Linked DNA regions of Homo sapiens: all the other regions are linked to region 1. Evidence: promoter capture Hi-C in human tissues and cell types (Jung and others, 2019). All regions are on one chromosome and are shown on one strand. The core of a region is centred on a gene start or on the middle of the fragment in contact, and the rest is flanking DNA. Distances in the headings are between cores, read along the strand shown.

What was found. Contacts are between HindIII fragments. The study calls those that stand out against the background at their distance.
Region 2: a fragment that was not itself captured here is called in contact with the fragment with the promoter of PRPF18 in region 1 in 1 of the 25 tissues and cell types used here (thymus).
Region 3: a contact is called between a fragment that was not itself captured here and the fragment with the promoter of PRPF18 in region 1, in 1 of the 25 tissues and cell types used here (aorta).

The regions. Positions count from the first base shown.
Region 1 is chr10:13,584,459-13,589,562 of GRCh38, reverse strand. It overlaps PRPF18 (pre-mRNA processing factor 18), which reads right to left and starts at 2,598. Exons shown (of 10, transcript NM_003675.4): 1 at 2,411-2,598. The coding sequence starts at 2,476. RefSeq lists enhancers at 1,533-2,128, 2,304-2,643. The HindIII fragment of the contact is 7,227 bases long and covers 212-5,104 here.
Region 2 is chr10:13,426,042-13,431,145 of GRCh38, reverse strand. No RefSeq gene overlaps it. Among named protein-coding and RNA genes, the nearest start is that of SEPHS1, 80 kb to the right of the region's middle. The HindIII fragment of the contact is 5,427 bases long and covers 11-5,104 here.
Region 3 is chr10:13,739,138-13,744,241 of GRCh38, reverse strand. FRMD4A (FERM domain containing 4A) reads left to right here. Exons shown (of 25, transcript NM_018027.5): 10 at 3,665-3,730; 11 at 3,991-4,048. Among named protein-coding and RNA genes, the nearest start is that of PRPF18, 150 kb to the right of the region's middle. RefSeq lists an enhancer at 716-955 and a silencer at 3,579-3,873. The HindIII fragment of the contact is 3,959 bases long and covers 360-4,318 here.

The sequences.
Region 1 (5,104 bases), core at 1,349-3,848:
GCTAAAGCCTTAGCAAGAACCAAGGCAGTGACTCTAAACTGCCACTGCAGCCAGAGGGAGCCAGTTTCTCTAAACAAATTTACTCCTTATGATAAAGGAGTAAAATTACTATTTTTATTAAGTCTTGATCTTTGGCCATATCTTTTTAATATTATGTGACAAAACAGGAAAGATGCATACAACAATTCTCATTTATACTAAAGTTTGCTGGTTGTGTGGAGGAAAGTAATTGAGTTGCAAGCTAAACTGGCTTTTTCACGGAATACCATTTTTACACTTAAGAACACCCGGCAAACCATGGTTCTTCAGACTTGGGTATTTGGCAGACAACTTCCCCAAACTGAACAAAGTGAGCAGATCACTTCAAGAAAATAACTGATAATATTTGTTGCCTATGATAAAATTCCAGCTTCCAAGTGGAAATTAAGTGTGGTGAACTTAGATCTGTCATCAGGAGCCTGACAGTTTCCTAATGCTTACAGATGTTTCTCAGATCAGTGGATATTAAATGAAGTGATCTTTTCATATTTTGTAATGAAATGTGTCAACAGGTGGGAGACCTGCATAATTCAGTAACCCAATGTTTTCCAAATGATCGATCAGTGAGTATTTTTAACGTTTCTCAGTTTTAACTTCTAATATGGTAAATACGGATAGAAATAACACATAAACAAAAGTCCTTCAAGATCTTCAGTAACTTTTAAGAGTGTGAAGGGGTCCTGAGACCAAAAGCTTTGAGAACCAGCGGTCTAAGTTACTGCTACACAATAAAGTAAGGGAGATCATCTTCAGGAAGTTCCTAAATCATGTAATTCTTTCTCCCCCTTTTTAGTACCTTTCCAAAAGAGTCTTAGCATTCCCATCAGTGAAGAGCAGGCCTACAGACTTTTCATGTGTTGAAGAAGAGAGAAGGAGGAGGAATAGAATTTAAAAAATTGGGATTTACTATTAGAAAGGAATTTTATTACTTTTTTTTTTTTTTTTTTAGAGACAGGGACTCGGTCTCTCACCCAGGCTGGAGTGCAGTGGCACGATGATAGCTCACTGCAGCCTGAACTCCTGGGCTCAAGCGATCCTCCCGCCTTGGTCTCCCAAGCAGCCGGGACTAGACGCGCGCACCACCACACCTGGCTAGAAGGAATTTTTTTTTTTTTTTGAGACGGTGTCTCACTCTGTCGCCCAGGCAGGAGTGCAGTGGTGCGATGTCGGCTCACGGCAACCTCCGCCTCCCGGGTTCAAGTGATTCTCTGGCCTCAGCCTCCTGAGTAGCTGGGATTACAGGCGCGCACCACCACGCCCAGCTAATTTTGGTGTTTTTAGTAGAGACGGGGTTTCACCATGTTTGCCAGGCTGGTCTCGAACTCCTGACCTCAGGTGATCTGCCCACCAAAGTGTGGGGATTACAGGTGTGAGCCACCGCGCCCGGCGGCCCTTCCTCCATGTTTCAGTTGGGCACAAACCCTTCGTAAGGCGACAGAAGGGAACTCTCAGGAGCACTGGGGCACGTCCGCAGAATGCCAACAGGTAGGAGCGGGGATAGGGGGCAGTTAGGTAAACTGGAGGGAAACAGGGTCAGTCGGGGGAAAACAAACAAAGCCTCGGGTTTTCCTGCAATTCCCACACCTGCATCCCTAAGGCTCCCAAGTGGTTACCGGAAAGAAGGCCGTGAGTGTAAGTTGCCCGGGTCCTTGGCGTTTTGAACAAAGAATTGGACAAAACGCACAAAAAAAGTAACAAAACACAGGAATGAAGCAGCAAAAGTAGGGACTTATGAACGCGAGAAAGCACTCCACAGGGTGTGAGTGGGCCCGAGCAAGCGGCTCGAGGCCCCGGTTACAAAGTTTTCCGGGTTTTAGGTACTCCTTCTGAGGTCCCTATCAGCTACCCCGTATCTGGATGAAGGGTTCGGTCTGTGGCTAAAGACTGAGGTGAACTGGCGCCCTATGCAGATGAAGGGATGGCCCGTGATTGGCCCACGGCCAATGCAGGGCACGTTCCCTTCCCATCTGAGAGGTGGTGGAAAGGCAGGGATGCGGGGAGAGCCGCAGCCTGAAGCCTTTGCTACTCGGTGGTGGGAAGATGAGGATTTTTCTTTTGGTTTGGCTTTTGGACGTGGGCGTTAATTGGCCTCAGGTTCCCGCCCCCAGACCCAGGTGTTTTCCTTTTGATCCAGCTTTGGGAAGTCAGCACGAATTGTACTCAAGTTCCCTGCTCTCAGACCCTATTCTCCAGCCTCAACAGTGAGACGCCAAGGGTTGGATCTAAGGGGGCCTACCAGGGGTAGTGGCAGGACACTCGCTAAGCCCCGTCCCCGCCCCGAATCCTCTGAGTATCGTCACCCTCACCCCAAAACCCCGACACACATACTCTCACTCTTACATCCCGACCCCCACGACCGCAGGGTCCTCACCACCAGCAGGTTCCTGTCCTCCACCAGCTGCCGCTTCCGAAGGATCTCTGATTTCAGAATGTCCATCTCGCCGCCAGAATTTAAGCTCCAGTTTCCCGCTCCAGCTCCTCGAACCCAGCCTCACTGGGCCGGCGGCCGCGAACCCACTGAGTATACGGAACAACAAGCCCAAACACCTGAGAACAACTGACAGGAGCCGCTTCCGGCGGAAGCTGGGATGAGAGAGATGAGGGAAGAGAGTGGCCCGGGGCGCCTGTGGTGGCCAAAGCAGCTGTGCGTGAGTGCCCACTGGCGGCGCCCTCCGGCAGCGCGCCTGTAGTTTCCCCTCGTAGGGAGGTTTACGTGAACGTGGACGGAAACCCGGGTCTTTGTAGTACTCTCTGCACCTGCTAGTTGAGTTCCAAAAGCCTCTCGAAGAACACCTCAATAATGCCAGTTAAATCAAGATCTTTATTAACTGGAAATTTACATTAGGGTTTCTGAAGTTACTTGCTTGCAAAATTTGCAAAAGGATGAGAAAAATCTAAACAATAATACTAACTTGTAACAATAGAGTGAAAGGGCTGTCTGTTCATTACTAGCCTGTTAAATTTCCTGTGAACTTAAACGACTACAACCATTTAAAGCAGTTTGGAAGTCAATTTATCTTCACTCCCTCTGTTTTAGATTGCTTACCAATCTTGGTGATAATTGAACATTTACCTCAAGCTAACTAATCATTTTTTGGTCATGTGTTCAGCAATCAAGATTTTTCAGTGACATGATTGGAGATGTAATCAGAAATTCCTTTTTTTTTTTTAAATCCAACCCAAGGGAAAAAAAGTTAAATTGAAGAGAAAAATTATGTCAGAGATTTTTTAAGTCCCTAACATTTGTTTACAGTGGACTTATTTTTTTCATGTCATTGAAGCACGTTTAAAAATTGTTTTTGTGAAATCATAATTGAACAATATTTGACATTTCGTTTTTCTTACTCAAAAAAGGTAAGAAATATCATTTTGTTGAGTCAGCTGATAATGGGTAAAATGCTTTACAAAACAAAAAAATGAACAATTGAATTATTTCAATTTAGAAAGTCTTTTGTGGGGGGTGATACTTCATCTAAAAGATATCTGAGGCCAGACGGGGTGGCTCACCCCTGTAATCCCAGAACTTTGGGAGGCCGAGGTGGACAGATCACCTGAGGTCAGGAGTTCAAGACCAGCCTGGCCAGCATGGTGAAATCCCGTCTCTACTAAAAATACAAAAATTAGCCAGGCGTGGTGGCAGGTGCCTATAGTCCTAGCTACTCAGGAGGCTGAGACAGGAGAATTGCTTGAATCCGGGAGATGGAGGTTGCAGTGAGCCGGGATCATGCCACTGCAGTCCAGCCTGGGTGATAGAGCAAGACTTTGTCTCAAAAACAAAACAAAATAAAATAAAATATACCTGACTTTTGCCAGAAATAAGCCAACACAGGAAAATGTCCTTGAACTAAATATGGCAACACTCTTGCATGAATATGGGTTTCCCTCACTAATCAATGAGCAAATAATAATTTATTAGCATTTTCCTGATTTAGGGATTAGGGATTGTTAGACACAAAAAAAACCTGAAGGGTTAAGACAGATGACAGTAACAGCAATGGAAGTTTACAGAGAACACAACGGCTGGCTACCTGGGAAACTGTCAGTGTAAACCAGAGAAGTTACTAGCTACAGTTAACAGCCTCCCCTTACATTTTAGACTTTCATTGATTTCTACGTTTATGTAAACATGTGCACTGAATCCTGATTAAGGCCTGAGATCAAAGAGTGATAGAGAGAAATACTTGAACAAGCAACTGACAAGCAAGCTTTTCCATTCAAAAGGAAGGAAAAAAGATATCCAGGAGCTTTTAGAAATACTTAAAAGAGGCCGGGCACAGTGGCTCACGCCTACAATCCGAGCACTTTGGGAGGCCAAGGCAGGCGGATCAGCTGAGGTCAGGAGTTTGAGACCAGCCTGGCCAACATGGTGAAACCCTGTCTCTACTACAAAAATAGCCGGGCTTGGTGGCACACACCTGTAGTCCCAGCTATTCAGGAGGCTGAGGCAGGAGAATCGCTTTAACCCGGGAGGCGGAGGTTGCAGTGAGCCAAGATCGCGCCACTGCACTCCAGCCTGGGTGACAGGGCAAGACTCTGTCTCAAAAAAAAAAAAAAAAAAAAAAAAGAAAAGAAAAGAAACACTTAAAAGAACAAATCGCCGTGACCCTAAGAGAGACCATATTCATTTAAAAAAACATGCATCCCATTTCATCACAATCATTATTTAAAAAGTGAAATATTGGGACTGGGTACAGAGGCTCACACTTGTAATCCCAGCACTTTGGGAAGCCAAGGCAGGAAGATCACTTGAACCCAGGAGTTCAAGGCTGCAGTGAGCATTGATCGCACCACTGCACTCCAGCCTGAGTGGCAGAGTAAGACACTGTCTCTAAAACAAAAATAAATAAATGAGAGATAAAAATGAAAAATTGGAAACAACCCAAGTGTTCTAAATGGAGGAATAGTTAAATAAAATATAGTTTATACACACAACCAAATAACATGGCATCATTAAAAACCATGTTTTTAAAAATTCAATGGTATGGGAATGCTCATGATACAATGTTCGGTCCAAAAGTAGCATAATGAAACTTTATAGCATATAGTCTCTGCTTTTTAACAAAAA
Region 2 (5,104 bases), core at 1,475-3,974, 160 kb after region 1:
GTGTGTTCCTTGGACCTCGCTCTCTCCCCTCCCCTTGTACGCATGCTCTGGAGTGTACGTGCCCACCTAACTCCGCTGGCCTTGACCCTCACTCTGCCCTCTAGAACCACCTTGAGTCCCACAAACATGATGCTCCAGGAGGCCTCAGTTCCCCTTGGTTCCTCTAACAGCTCTGGCAGGTGCTCAGGGGAGACAGAGGCGCCAAGGGGAGGTAGAGGTGCCAAGGGGAGGTGGAGCAGATGAATTAGGTAAGTTCTCCTGAAGAAAAGAGTAGGGAAGAGGAGCATGGCTTGGCAGAGATATGTGGAAAGGCAAGACATAAAGGAGAAATCCACTGATACTTACAGAGGCTATTTCTTAATGCAAAGGAAAAGTACTAGTAATATAAAAACAAAATTTTTGCTAAAGTATATGGGCTACATGATCCCACTTTATTTTCCAAAGATGTATAGATTTACATAAGAGTCTGGAAATCTACATCAAAACATTTGCAGTGATTATCTCCAGATGCTGCAACTGCAATTTCTGTTTCCTTCTTTTCTTATTTTCTGCATTAAGCATTCATTGACTTTTTTCAGATATAATTCACATACCATAAAATTCACCACTTTAAGCCATGCAATTCACTGGTTTTTAATTGATTCACAAAGTTGCACAACCACCATCACCTTCTAATTCCAGAACATTCTCTTAACCCCAAGAAGAAACCCTGCTCCCCTGAGCAGTCACTCACCAACATTGCTCCGTTCCCAGCCCGAGGCAACCACAAATTACTTTCTCTCCCTTTGGATTGGTCTCTTCTGGACATTTCATATAAATGGAATCATACAATGTGTGGTCTTGTGCGACTGGTCTCTTTCACTCAGCATGTTTTCAGGGTTCACCCATGTTACAGCAGGTATCAGCACTTCATTGCTTCTTATTGCCAAATAATATTCCATTACATGGACAGACTGCATTTTATTTATCCATTTATCAGTGATAGACCTTTGAGTTATTTCCACTTTGGGGCTATTATAAATAATGCTGCTCTAAACATTTGTGTACCAGTCTTTGTGCAGACATATATGTTCAATTCTCTTGGGTATATGGGTAGGTGTGGGATTGCTGGGTCATATGGTAACTCTATGTTGAAATTTTTTTTTTTTTTTTGAGACAGGGTCTTGCTCTGTCACCCAGGCTGGAATGCAGTGGCACCATCATACCTCACTGCAGCCTCAACCACCTGGGTTCAAGCAATCCTCCCACCTTAACCTCCAGAGTAGCTGGGACTACACCACACCTGGCTAACTTTTTCTTTTTTAGAGGCTGAGTCTGACTATATTGCCCAGGCTAGTCTCAAACCCCTGGGCTCAGACCACCCTCCTGCCTCAGCTTCCCAAAGTGCTGGGATCACAGGTGTGGGCCACCACGCCTGGCCTATATTGAACTTTTTGGGGAAATACCTGTTTCCCAAAGAATCTGAACCATTTTACATTCCTACCAGCAATGTATGAGGGATCTGATGTCTCCACACACTTGCTAATACTTGTGATTGTTTGTTTTCTTATAGCCATCCTAGTGAGTGTGAAGTGGTACCTCACTGTGGTTGTGATTTGCATCTCTCTGGTGATTAATAATGCTGAGCATCTTTTTAAAATATATATTTTTACATTTTTTATATTTAATTGACAAATAACAATTGTATATAACTATGGGGTATGATGCGACACTTTGATATATGTGTACATTACGGAACGATCAAATCTAGCTAATTTACCTATTCATCACCTCACACACATCATTTTCTGTGATGAGAACATTTGAAATACATTCTCTTAACAATTTTGAAATATACTATACTTTAACTACAGTCACCATGCTGTGCAATAGATCTCAAAAACTTATTCTTTCTATGTAACTGCAACTTCGTATCTTTCGACCAACACCTGATTCCCTCCCCACTCCACCATCCCCCACTCCCAGCCCCTGGTAACCACCATTTTACTCCACATCTAAGGATTCAACATTTTTAGGTTCCACATAGAAGTGAGGTCACACAGGGCCGGGCAAGGTGGCTCACACCTGTAATCCCAGCACTTTGGGAGGCCAAAGCGGGTGGATCACCTGAGGTCAGGAGTTCGAGATTAGCCTGGCCAACATGGTGAAACCCCGTCTCCACTAAAAATACAAAAATTAGCCGGGCATGGTGGCACATGCCTATAATCCCAGCTACTCAGGAGGCTGACCCAGGACAATCGCTTGAACCCAGGAGGCGGAGGTTGCAGTGAGCTGAGGTCTTGCCATTGCACTCCAGCCTGGGTGATGAGCGAAACTCTATCTCAAAAAAAAAAAAAAAAAAAAAAAAAGTGAGGTCACAGAGTATTTGCCTTTCTGTACCTGGTTTATTTTATTTGGCATAGTGTCCTCCAGACTCATCTGTGTTGTCACAAATCACAGGATTTCCTTTTTAATAGCTGAATATGCCCCCATTGTGTATATAGACCAAATTTTCTTTATCCATTGATGGACACTTAGCTTGATTTCCCATCTTGGCTGCTGTGAATAGTGCTGCCATGAATATGAGAGTGCAGGTATCTCTTCAACAGACTGATTTTAATTCCTTTGGATATGTACCCAGTAGTGGAATTGCTGGATCATGTTCTATTTTTAGGTTTTGGGGGATCTTCCATACTGGGGTGTCTGGAGTTGGTTCCTGTCGGTGGGTTCGTGGTCTCGCTGACTTCAAGAATTGAGCTGTGGACCTTCGTGGTGAGTGTTACAGCTCTTAAAGATGGCACAGACCCAAAGAATGAATGGTAGCAAGTTTTATTGTGAAGAGTGAAAGGACAAAGCTTCCACAGCATGGAAGCGGACCCCAGAAGGTTGTTGCCTGCTGGCTGGGGTGGCCAGCGTTTATTCCCCTTATTGTCCCCACCCATGTTCCCTTTCTGTCCTATCAGAGTGCCCTTTGTTCAATCCTCCCCGCAATTGGCTACTTTTAGAATCCTGCTGATCGGTGCATTTTACAGAGTGCTGATTGGTGCGTTTTACAGAGTGCTGATTGGTGCGTTTTACAATCCTCTTGTAAGACAGAAAAGTTCCTGATTGGTGCGTTTTACAGTCCTCTTGTAAGACAGAAAGTTCCCCAAGTCCCCACTCCACCCAGGAAGTCCAGCTGGCTTCACCTCTCACTGTTATCCATAGCGGCTGTACCAATTTACATTCCCACCAACAGTGGACAAGGGTTGCCTTTTCTCCGCATCCTTGGCTACACTTGTTATCTTTGATCTTTTTGATGATAGCCATCCTAACAGGTGTGAGGTGACAGCTCATTGTGGTTTTAATTTGCATTTCTTTTTTATTTCAGTAGCTTTAGGGGTACAAGTAGTTTTTGGTTACATAGATGAATTGTACAGTGGTCAAGTCTGAGATTTTAGTACCCATCACCCAAGTAGTGTACACTGTACCCAATATGTAGTTTTTCAATCCCTCACCCCCTCCCACCCCCTCTTTCTGAGTCTTCGATGTCCATTATATCTTTGCATATGCCTTTGCATACCCATAGCTTAGCTTCCACTTATGAGTGACAACATGTGGTATTTGGTTTTTCATTCCCAAGTTCCTTCACTTGGAATAATGACCTTCAGCTCTATCCAAGTTGCTGCAAAAGACATTCTTTCTTTCTTTTTTATTGCTTAGTAGTATTCTATGGTATATGTATATTACATTTTCTTTATCCACTCATCTCTTGATGGGCACTTAGGTTGATTCCATATCTTTGCAATTGTGAATTGTACTACAATAAACATATGCATACTGTTGTCTTCCTGATATAATGACTTCTTTTCCTTTAGGTTGATACCCAGTAGTGGGATTGCCGGATCAAATGGTTCATCTGCTTGTAGTTCTTTCAGAAATCTCTATACTGTTTTCCACAGAGGTTGTACTAATTTACATTCCCACCAGCGGGATATAACCATTCCCTTTTAACTACATCCACACCATCTATTGCTTTTTGACTTTTTAATAATGGATATTCTGGTTGGGTAAGGAGGTATCTCACTGTGGTTTCAATTTGCATCTCCCTGATGATTAGTGATGTTGAGCATTTTTTCGTTGTTGGGCATTTGTATATCTTCTTTTGAGAAATGTCTATTCATGTCATTTACCTACTTTTTGATGGGATGATTTGGTTTTTTTCTTGCTGCTTTGTTTGAGCTCCTTGTAGATTCTGGATACTAGTTTTCTGTCAGATATATAGTTTGCAAATATTTTCTCCCATTCTGTGAATTGTCTGTTTACTCTGGTGATTATTTCTTTTGCTGTGCTGAAGGTTTTTAGTTTAATTAGGTCCCATGTATTTATTTTTGTTTTTATTGCATTTGCTTTTGGGAACTTAGGCACAAATTCTTTGCCTAGGCCAATGTCCAGAATAGTTTTTCCTAGGTTTTTTCCTAGAATTTTTGTAGTTTCAGGTCTTAGGTTCAAGTCTTTAACCCATCTTGAGTTGATTTTTTATATGGTGAGAGATAGAGATCTGGCTTTATTCTTCTACATGTGGCTATCAAGTTTTCCCAGCATCATTTATTGAATAGAGTGTCCTTTCTTCAATTTATGTTTTTGTATGATTTGTTGAAGATCAGTTGGTTGTAAGTATTTGACTTTATTTATGGGTTTCCCATTCTGTTCCATTGGTCTATGTATCTACTTTTATACCTGTACTATGCTGTTTTGGTAACTACAGACTTGTAGTATAATTTATAAAGTAATATGATGCTTCCAGATTTGTTCTTTTGCTTAGGATTGCTTTGAACTATTTGGGCTCTTTTTTGGTGCCATATGAATTTTAGGATTGTTTTTTCTAATTCTGTGAAAAAACAAAGTTGGTATTTTTATATGAATTGCATTGAATATGTAGATTGCACTGGGCAGTATGGTCATTTTCATGATATTGATTCTCCAATCCATGAGCATGGGATGTGTTTCCATTTGTTTGTGTCATCTATGATTTCTTCAGCAGTATTTTGTAGCTCTCCTTGTAGAGAACTTTCATCTTCTTGGTTAAGTATATCCCTAGGGTTGTTTTTGTTTTGTTTTTTGCAGCTATTGTGAAAAAGACTGA
Region 3 (5,104 bases), core at 1,090-3,589, 150 kb before region 1:
CTGGACCACCTGACCACCCCTATCGCCTCAATAAGGTATGCAGGGACATCTATTTTTAACCCCGAAACCACTGAGCACAGCAGGCCAGCAGCTGCTCCAAGACGGGGAACCATATCATATCACCATCCCTGTTTCCCCTTCCATCACCCATGCATTTCATGTATCCCCTTGTCTGCTGAGAGGTCATTTGACTTAACAACATGACCCAGCCAGCGACCTGGGCACAGGCAGCTTTGATCATTTGCCTTTTTCCTCCATGTAACCCTGTGTCCTCCAGGCAGCACTTACTCTGCTTCCTGGATTTCTGCTAGTTATCCCCTTGAGTCCCTGCTACAAATCTAGGGTATGGGAAAATTGTCTGCAAAGCTCAGAGCACTTCAGCCCTCTGGCAAGTTCCAGAGCAGAGGTGGGGACAGGCTGGGAGCAGAATAGGTTCTCGGTCAGGATTGAGCCTGTTCTTCCAGGATAAGCCCACCATGTTTAAGGGGGCAAAACAAGCAGGAAAAGCTGAGGATGGAGAAGGCAATTATTGTGGCTTCACAGATGGCCTCAGAGAGCAGGAGTTACAGGGCAAACAGGGGGCGGCAAAGATTTCTGCTGCTGTCGGCCACCCAGAACCCTGTGGTCAGGACATGTCGTGGTTAAACAGCGACGCGGCTTTCTGACAGTGGTTTTGACTTTCTTTCACTGGTGTTTCTCCTGAGCCTTCTGTGTGTTCATGGCTACAGTGCTATGTTGACTTGCACCTCCTGAACTCACCCCAGGGACCCTCTCTCCCTAGTGCTGCAAAGGAAAAAGGTCCCTATCTACACTGAGTTGCTTGACCCTGGATCTAGGAGTCGACTTCACAAAACCCCATGTCACGTGGTAGGAAACACGCCAAGGCAGCTGTTGATTTAGTGAGTGGGATGGAAGGAAGTGGAGCCGCTGAACCTCCTGACGCAGTTCTGCAGGATTAGTGAGGCTGGGCCTGCCCTTGGGGAGCATGCTTTTCGAGAATCGTCTTCAGGAGACGACCTTGTCACACTTGATATAGAACTTCCTCGGCATGTGGGAGCCAAGGAGAGAGATGGCTGGGTCTGCCCCTTTCTGAATAGAGGATATCCAGACCCCACAGAAGTGACTCTCCAACTGAGGCAAGGCCCCCTGTAGCTGGCTGGTCCTCATTCTGGGTATTTATAAAGACCCTTCTTTATCAAGACCTCTCACTGTCCTCTATGCATCAAATTCCAGAGTATTAAAATTAAAAGATACTAGTTGGAGGTTAAGGTAGTCATTGGAAGAGAAATAAATTACCCCCAAGGACTAGGTGATGAATGTGTAGAACCTGTTACCCCCAACACTGGCCTTGCTAAAACTGAAAACAAAAAGGTGGGTAAAAGAAGGCTTTAGGTAGATCCTGGGCTGATGGATAATAGATAATAGGGCCGGGTATAGTGACTCACACCTGTAATCCCAGCATTTCAGGAGGCTGAGATGGGCAGATTATTTGAGGTCAGGAGTTTGAGACCAGCCTGGTCAATGTGGTGAAACCTCATCTCTACTAAAAATACAAAAATTAGCCAGGCGTGGTGGTGCACACCTATAATCCCAGCTATTCGGAAGACTGAGGCAGGATAATTGCTTGAACTTGGGAGATGGAGGTTGCAGTGAGTCAGGATCATACCACTGCACTCCAGTCTGGGCGAGAGAGCAAAACCTTGTCTCAAAAATAATAGATAATAAAGATCCTCTATTGAGATCTCGAGGGTACACCCCTAGAATCAGCTCCCCTCACAGAGCTTTGACAGAGGACAGGGAGGGTGAAGAGGAGTAAGACCTGAGAGTGAGAACTGAGGTTCCAAGGCTCTGGGGCCAGACCAGGGAGACCGAGGTGTCGACTCCACACCTCAGCAGGTGGGGTTGGGGCTTTCTGCCTGCACCTGCTTCCCTGGGATTCCCCAGGTTGGCTCTGCCCTTCCGAAAGCGGGGGTGGGAGCGGCCGTATCTCCTACCTCATGGGCACCAGAGTCACTTCTCAGGAGGCGGGCTTGCCACTGCTGCCAAGGAGCCAGCTAACCTCTTGTTATATTAGAACTAGGATTTCAGCTGGGCGCGGTGGCTCACGCCTGTAATCCCAGCACTTTGGGAGGCAGGGGTGGGCAGATGACCTGAGGCCCGGAGTTTGAGACCAGCCTGGCCAACATGCAAAACCCCATCTCTACTAAAAATACAAAAATTAGCAAGGTGTGGTGACACACACCTGTAATCCCAGCTACTCAGGAGGCTGAGGCACAAGAATTGCTTTAAACTGGGAGGCAGAGGTTGCGGTGAGCCAAGATCGCTCCACAGCACTCCAGCCTGAGTGACAAGGGAGACTGCGTCTCAAAAACAAAAACAAAAACACCTAAGATTTCAAAAAAGGAGGGAGCGCCTGTCTAATTCTGGTAGCTGGTTTGCTGTTGTTCTCCAAGCATTCCTATGGGGCTTTTGTTGCTTCATGGTTCATATTAACCAAGCCCAAATTCCAGAACATTCCATCCTCCTGGAAAGCCTTCCATTCCTGACTACGCATTCAGAGCAGGTAGGCTGTGGGCACTTGGTTAAGGTCAATGCCTGCCATTCCCCCATGAGGCCCTGTGTGAACAGGACTGGGAAGATGAGGATAAGAAGGGCCCCAGGGAGCTCAGCCCGGGCATTCATGCGTCATCTCTGCTGTCTGCTTCCTCTTGTTCCCACGGTACCATTTCTTCCAAGGAGCTGATCCCAAAACCTGGGCTCCAGTCTTTTTGTTCTTTTGTTTTTTGTTTTTGAGCCAGGGTCTCACTCTGTCACCCAGGCTGGAATGCAGTGGTGCAATTGTAGCTCACTGCAGCCTTGACCTCCTGGGCTCAAGCAATCCTCCCACCTCAGCCTCCCAAGTAGCTGGGACTGCAGGCATACCCCACCATGCCTGGCTAATTTTTGTATTTTTGTATAGAGACAAGGTCTCACTGTGTTGCCCAGGCTGGTCTCAAACTCCTGGGCTCAAGCAATCCCCCCATGTCAGCCTCCCTAAACACTGGGATTACAGGGGTGAGCCACTGCACCCGGCCTGGGCTCCAGTCTTATATTTCTTGATTAGAAATCCAAGATAAGCCAGCCATGGTGGCTCACGCCTGTAATCCCAGTACTTTGGGAGGCCAAGGTGGGTGGATCACTTGAGGTTAAGAGTTTGAGACCAGCCTGGCCAACATGATGAAACCCTGTCTCTACTAAAAATACAAAAATCAGTCAGGTGTGGTGGCACGCACCTGTAGTCCCAGCTACTCTGGAGGCTGAGGCACAAGAATTGCTTGAACTCGGGAGGTGGAGGTTGCAGTGAACCAAGATCGCACCATTGCACTCTAGCCTGGGTGACAGAGCAAGACTCCGTCTCAAAAAAAAAAAAAAAAACAAACATCCAAGACAAAGAGAATGCAAGTCCTTTGTGGGGAAAACAGACTCTTTTTAAAGTAAATCTACATCCAAATAGATAGCACTCAGACCGAGTTTGGAAATACCACTCCAGGACAAATCATTTTTCCAGGAGCTGTTGGTGCCTTGGAGCTTCTTATGAGATGGGGCTGAGAAATATCTTACTGGCAGGAAGCTTGGCTGTTGACCTAGAGACTCCAACAACAGCATTCTTTTCTTCTAATTACAGTGAAGACAGAGTCATTGAGCACTACAAGAAACTGAACGGTCAGACAAGAGGTCAAGCAATCGTAAAGTAAGTGGCCCCTTCCCAGCTCACATGGGGACAGTGTTTGTGTGTGTTAATATATCGTATGTCAGGATTGTTCAGTTCCTCTCCAAAGACATATCTGGGAGTGGGGGGTGTATGTTTCCATTTAATTTTCAAGTAAATAATCACTCCGAGAACTTTATCACGTACACATACACAAATATATATATGATACCAGATCTGCTGAATAACTAGCCTTTTGCGCATTGTGTGTGTGTTTGTGTATCTTCGTGTTGTCATTCCAGCTACATGAGCATCGTGGAGTCTCTCCCAACCTACGGGGTTCACTATTATGCAGTGAAGGTGAGTAGACTCATTTGGTGAAGGTTACCAAACCTCCCCTAAGCAAACAAATCAAAACATCTCGTTATATGTTTTCTTCTTTTTCTTTTTCTTTTGAGATAGAGTCTTGCTTTGTCTCCCAGGCTGGTGTGCAGGGTGCGATCTTGGCTCACTGCAACCTCCACCTCCCGGGTTCAAGCGATTCTCCTACCTCAGCCTCCTGAGTAGCTGGGATTACAGGCATGCGCCACCACACCCAGCTAATTTTTGTATTTTTAGTAGAGACGAGGTTTTGCCATGTTGGCCAGGCTGGTCTGGAACTCCTGACCTCAGGTGATCTGCCTGCCTCGGCCTCCCAAAGTGCTGGGATTATAGGCGTGAGCCACCGCGCCTGGCCCTCATTGTTTTTTTCTTTATAATTCCTGGTGGGAATGGAGGTTGTGGAGGACTTGGTCAGGAAGATTGCACACTGCGGGGAGACAATTTCAAATACAGAAAACTTCATCCAGTTAACTTGCTTCAACCTGTGGTCCATTTCTTTGTCAGCCCTAGAACTTAACAGAAAGGCTGCCTCTGATATATATGCTTTCTGCCTTCCAAGAAAACTTCAAAACTGTGCTCTTTATTTCAGTTTGGTAAAGATCAAAAGCAGGGCTTGTGATTTTCAAAGTGCCAAAGGAGTAGAGGTGTTTGGCACTTAGAACCTCAAAGCATAAGCAATGGCTCTGCTACTAATTTGGAAAAGAGCACGAATCCAGGAAACCTGGCCCAGCTGCACCAGGCTCCCTGTCTGGTGGCCTTGTGGTCTCACTGATGCCATGTTTTATGGTGTGATGACAGCCCTTCTCTGGTCAATCTGCTGTTGCAGTGGCATTGGGTTTCCTCTTGTTCTGTTCTCTGAAACCGTTGCAGTGCACACAGCTGCTTCCCAGAGGCAGGGGTTTAATACAAGGATTTTATCCCACCTTTAAAGTTTTAAGAAATCATATACCCAGAAGCTTGAAAAGAAATTTCAAAATTTATCTCTTTTGCCTTTCATCTTTTTGCTCATCTTGAAATAACTCACGCCCCACAAAT